Regions from separate parts of the Homo sapiens genome. Here region 2 is linked to region 1. The links are contacts of gene promoters, found by promoter capture Hi-C in blood cells and fetal thymus (Javierre and others, 2016). All regions are on one chromosome and are shown on one strand. The core of a region is centred on a gene start or on the middle of the fragment in contact, and the rest is flanking DNA. Distances in the headings are between cores, read along the strand shown. Region 1 holds the start of ZNF462 (zinc finger protein 462). Region 2 has its middle 150 kb from the start of TMEM38B.

Evidence for each region. The method cuts DNA at HindIII sites, captures the fragments that hold promoters and counts their contacts. A CHiCAGO score of 5 or more calls a contact.
Region 2: a contact is called between a fragment that was not itself captured here and the fragment with the promoter of ZNF462 in region 1, in 2 of 17 cell types (endothelial precursors and megakaryocytes). The highest score is 10.8, in endothelial precursors.

What each region holds. Positions count from the first base shown.
Region 1 is chr9:106,861,646-106,864,561 of GRCh38, forward strand. ZNF462 (zinc finger protein 462) reads left to right here and starts at 1,521. Exons shown (of 13, transcript NM_021224.6): 1 at 1,521-1,710. The HindIII fragment of the contact is 9,383 bases long and covers 187-2,916 here.
Region 2 is chr9:105,840,097-105,843,012 of GRCh38, forward strand. No RefSeq gene overlaps it. Among named protein-coding and RNA genes, the nearest start is that of TMEM38B, 150 kb to the left of the region's middle. The HindIII fragment of the contact is 1,521 bases long and covers 735-2,255 here.

The DNA.
Region 1 (2,916 bases), core at 271-2,770:
TGACTTGCTGCATTGATTTTTTTGATACTGTAGAACCCCCATCCCCAACCCCCACCGCTCCCAGTCCAATTAAAACCGTAGGAGACTTTCGACCTGGTGGTGGAGGGGGGGAACCACTCCTTTGCAAAAGAGATAGTTCAGAATGATACGGGAGAGATTACACTAAATAAAAATTCAAGGTGTGAAAGCTTCATCTTGGCTCGCGTGTCTTCAACACCATGACACCTTATCATTAAGAGCGCTGATTGTTACTTTCCGAGCCTTTAGATGATCAGCCAGAAAGTGCAAACAACGCGGGGCTGGAGGGTGTAAAGTTATTTAAGCAGGCGTTCTTTTTTTCTTTTGGTGCGCAGTCAAAACATTTCACAAGTTAGGAAAAGAAAGTGGTGGTTCCGAAGCTCGGAATGATGGGCTCTTTTCCTCCTCCACCCCCCCACCTTCCATATCAGGAAAGAAATAAAACGCACAATGAGCCTTTATTTCAGGAGAGAAGACTTCAAAATACGTGCCAGTAATGGACAATTTGAGCTTTTCACTGGAAATACTCACACCGCAAGCTGGAAAGGGATTAAAAAGCCCCACGTGGTTGATCTGGGTTTATACTTGCAACCTCCAGTTCCCCACGTATGTTCTTTGCAAAGGTTGGCCTCTAGATGGATGCAAGTAAGGGACCCTCTGGGGCTCGGGCTCGGCGCCTCGGGCAGGGCTGACGTTGGGAGCGCTATGAGCTGCCGGGCAGGGTCCTCACCGGGGGCTTCCTCTGCGGGCCAGGGCTGCCGGGCGCCACCGGGACGCGAGCGCGCACGCCTCGGCCCGGCGGCCGCGCTCCTCGCACCGCCTTCTCCGCAGGTCTTTATTCATCATCTCATCTCCCTCTTCCCCTTCTCCTTCTCCTTTGCCTCCTTCTCCTTTGCCTCCTTCTCCTCCTCTTCCTCCCCCTCCTCCACCACCACCTCCTCCTCCTCTGCCGCCGCCACCTCCTCCTCTTGCATCTCACTGGCCTGGCTCTGAGTGACAAAGACAATGTCCCAGCCTTAACTTTGCAACCACCTTGCCTCCTTCTGGGGTTCAGCAGGGGGGAGGGGGAACAGCAGCAGCAGCCTCAGCATCTCCTCCAGCTTCTCCTTCTGCTCTTCTCGAGCTCTTGGATAATTCTTCCTCTTTTTTCCCCTAGCCTTTTTCCTCATTTCTTTCTTTCTTTCTTTTTTTCCTTCCTCTCTGCTGCACGTTGTTGTTGTTATTAGAAAGGCTTCGCGCACCCCCTGGTGCTCCGGCGTTTTGTGTGGCAGGAGAAGATTGTCTTCCTTCTCTCTTTCTGTCTTGCTTTCTCTCTCCCCCTGGTTGCTCATTATTCAGAGAGAGACACAGAGGGAGGGAGAGAGAGAGAGCGCGCGAGGGAGAGGGAGGAGAGGAGAGAGAAGAGGAGAGAGAGGGGAGAGAGAGAGTGAGAGGGAGAGGGAGGGAGGGAGAGAGAGAGAGAGGGAGAGAGACGGATATCTCAGGTCATCTGCAGCTGCAGCGAGTCTGAGGAGCCGAGGAAGGCAGGGAAGATGGCGATCCTCCATTGCTGAGACCCGGCAGAAGCACATGAGACTCCCAAACAACTTCCACAACAATAACCCGAGCAGGAAGAGGAGAAAGAGAAAGAGGATAAGGAGGCGGTGGGGCTGGAGAACCCGAAGCACCTCCCGGCGCCGGGACGCTTCTTCTGTAAGTTACTGCAATTAACAACCACCTCGGGGTGGTCCGAGTGCTCCGGGGAAGAGAGCGCGGGGTGGTGGAGGCACAAACGCGCTCATTCATTCGGCCAAGGAGGGTTGGAGGAGCGGGGAGGAGAGGAAGTCCCCTGCATGGACTGGCTGTTGGAAGAGGAGAAGAAGCGAGAGAGAAGAGGAGGAGGGGGAGGAGGGAGAGCAGGAGGGGGAGGAGGAAGAGGAGGAGGAGAAGCGAGGGAGGAAGAGGAGGAGGAGGAAGAGGAGGAGAAGGTGGTAGTGGTGGCAGTGGAGGTGGCTGTGCTTTTCCTGCTGGCTGCTGCTCCTGCTGGGGGGAGTGAGCGCGGTGGCTTAATTAATTTCGTGTAGTTCTATGAAGAGAAGAGAAAATGAAAGATGAGTGAGAAGAGAGCTGGAGGCTTAGGACGGATGCTCCGAGTGTGGGGACAGGAGTAGGGACAGAGGGGGGCGGAGGGCGGGAGGCCGGAGACCTGAGCCGAGAGCCAGAGGGAGCGAGCGAGGGTCAGAGGAGGGAGAGCTCCGTGCGAGCGGCCCCGACCTGAGCGGGTTGACCTCTTTCTTTCTCTGTCCCTCTCCTTCCTTTCCCCCTTCTGTCTGCCTGTCCCCCGCCCGATGGCAAAGCCGTGCGGATTGGCAGCCCCCCTCTTCCTCAGGTATTTGGCTCTCTCTCTCTCTCTCTCTCTCTCTCTCTCTCTCTCTCTCTCTCTCTCTCTCTCTCTCTCTCTCTCTCTCCCTCTCCCCGAAGTTGGGATGCGGGGTCGGGATGTGTCGGGGGGTGGCTGCTGCAGCTGCTGGTGCCGGTGCTGCTGGTGAACAGAGAGGCGAGGAGCGGGGGGCACCGGCCGGGTGGGGGGCGCAGGTTCAGGAGCGGCTGAGGAGCTGTCTCCAGGCTGGAGGTTCAGAAGCGTCTGGTGGAGGAGGACAACGGTTTCTGGAGAGGAGAAGCCATTACACACGCTTGGCTCTCCTCTGAGGAAGGGAGAAAGGAAGGCAGGGGCCTGGGGGGGCGTCTCACTCCTGGTGCAGTTCCCAGGGGTCTGCCCTCCTTCCAGGCACGAGGGGAAGCCGCAGCCGCCCCCCATTGGAGCAGCCCCTCTTTCCCTTTCTTTATCTCCCTGTCCTCCATTTGCAAGCTGTCTGCTTTGGTTCCAGTCCAGACTCCAAAACACAAAGCTCCTTCTCA
Region 2 (2,916 bases), core at 245-2,744, 1.0 Mb before region 1:
ATTATACATCCATGTACCTATTACTTATTTAGATTAATAAATCTTTTAATAAGTAGCTTAATAAACATTTATTGAGCCTTCATATAGATTATAATCTGAAACCCCAAACCCAGTCAGATCCAGAATTCTAGGATTCTAAGGAATCAGAGATGGTAGCCTGAGAAAGCAAGGAGCTGGCACCTTCCTGTCATAGAATCTACTGAGAAGCATAAAGAATGAGTTTTTGGCAGGTGACATTCCATGTGGACAGAGGACTGGGTAGGGGCAAAGGCCCTGAGCTGAGCAAGGGGAACTCAGATGAATAGGATGTGTTTGGAGCTTGGTGCATGAAAGAGTGTGCTGGAGTTTATGTCTCCAAACTAGGTGGGAGGCGATCATGAAGCGCATGGTGATGATGAAAGTTGCAGGATAGGGTTGGGTGTGGGGAGGGACTCTTCTTAGCAACAGCCACAGCCTTAAAGGAAGACCTGCTTTTCTCAGTCCCAACCTGTTCTAGGGGAAGGAGACAGCTAGTTTGCCTGCAACCAGTTGGGATGCTTTGAGACTCTGAGGCAGAGGGTCAGAGCTGGAAGAGCCTTCAACATCACCCAGCTACTTCCACTCATTGTGTGTGCAGAGGATGGTGTGGAAATCTTGGAGGCCAGGGGAGTTTTTAAGGTTAACAGTTAGAAAATGGCAGAGCTGGGCCTTTAGCCCTGGACAGAGTTTTGTCAATTGCACCTGAATGTGTTGGAAGCTTTATTCAGCCTCTCCCTTCTCTCCTTTATCCAGTGGGATGGGGACCTATTTCTCAGGCATCTTTGGGCAGGGACCCATCCATCTGAGGGTCTGGTTTCTGTTTCTGCAGGTAAATCATGGATGGCACAGATTTTGCCCCAGAATCAAGCTGGTCTTGGGCTTTTTCTCAGGAGTTTTGCCTTATGGCCCTTTTTTGCACCTCTTGTCATCTGCCTTGATTTGAGACTTGCTCCAGGCTCCAATCTCTTGCTTCTATGATCTGCTCTTCTCTGCCTGATGACCTACCTGAGGCTGGGCCCAGTTCTGTTTGCTGTCTCTCCATCCACCCATCTTCTGTACAAGGCTGCAATACCAAAGCCTCATTTCTCTCCTACTATAAACTCCAAAATACTCTTTTCTAAACCCAGCCTGTAAGGGCTCTCTTCATGTCTGTCCCACTTTCCTTTTTCTGCACACATTCTTCTCCTTGCATCCTTAGTTCTTTCCCTTTCTGTTTTAAATTCTGACATCTTCTTCCTCATCTCGTATTATCTTCCTTATTAATTACCCCACTACTCACAAAAAATGTTTAGGGACAGTTGGATAATTTGGCAAGAAAGAATCCTTTTGGGAGTAAGGGGTAAGCAGGGAAAGAAGCTGTGGATATTCACGCTTTGTTATTTTTTTGCTTTCACATCTGCTTCCCATAACAAGTAGGGCACTGAATTTCAGGTTTGATCTGCACTGTGTGGATGGAGCTGTTATGTCTACTTTTCTTCCTTCTTCTTTGAACTATGTATTTTCATGCAATGGACAAAGATTTCCATTCTTCAGATTGCAATTTTAGATGGCCACATGTGAGCTTCCTGGTAAACCAAACACTTATCTTCCTCTCATCTGCTGCCACCAGCTCACAACACCTTGGTTTGACACCCATTTGTGCCATTTCCCATGGCTTCAAGTTTTGATCAGTCTATGCCTTCAAATATCACCTCTGTTCTGATGACTGTCAATTTTATACCTCTAGCCCAACGATCTCTCCAGATTTAAACCTCTTTAGATTGTCACAAAGCTATCAGTCTCTGATAACCATTACAAGATTGCAACTAAGTTTGAGTCCCATAATTTTCTGGCCTTCATCTGAGGTAAGTTACTCAGCTTTTTTTGTTTTGTTACTTAGCTTTTGAGCTACTTTTTCCTCTCCTGAAAATGGGAGAGAATATGAATACCCACCTGAAAGGGAGGGTGGGAAGACCAAATGACATAATTCATAATTGATGTAGAAGTGCCTTGTAGCTTGTAATGGATGTAAAAAAGCCCTCTCCAAATCTTCATTGCCTTGTGAGTTGTATTTGCAACTTCAGCAGATACCAGATAAATTTAGAAATTGCCCCTGCAATAGACATATGTTGCCACCAGGTGGCAGGAGAAACCTGTGATGCAATCAACGAGGACAAACATTCTCAGAGAGAATTAATAAAATAAATTCTGATTGTTAGAAGCAGCCAACTCTTTAGTGTTTATTAAATAAACAACAAAGCTTATTTATAAATCACAGAAACCCGGAATACGCCAAATATGAATTCTCTAATAGAGGGTGTTTCAAACAGTTTTTAGGCTCTGGTGCTCATTTTCCAGCCGAAACCTTACATAGAACCCCAAGTATAGAAAGTAGATAAAAGTGGCAGAACTTTTTCTGAAGTAGGGCAGGGACACTGGGAGTTAATTCACTCATCTTCCTTCTTTGTCCTTGAGCCACCTCTGCCAAACCTCAGGTCTTCATGGGACAGAGTTCTAAACCACTGTTCTAATAACTGTATAATGCCCTTTAAAAATATTCCTTTGTCATTGTAAAAAATGCATGTTGCTTAAAAATATATAGAATTTTAGATAGAGTTTATATAAAATATAAGTTATAAATGTATATAAATGTATGTAAATATAAAATTATAAAATTTGGGCCAGGCTTGATGGCTCATGCCTATAATCCCAGCACTTTGGGAGGCCGAGGTGAGAGGATCCCCTGAGGTTAGGAGTTCGAGACCAGCGTGGCTAACATGGTGAAACCCTGTCTCTACTGAAAAATACAAAATATTAGCCGGGCATAGTAGCGGGTGCCTGTAATCCCAGCTACTCGGGAGAGTGAGGCAGAAGAATCCCGTGAACCCGGGAGGTAGAGGTTGCTGTGAGCCAAGACTG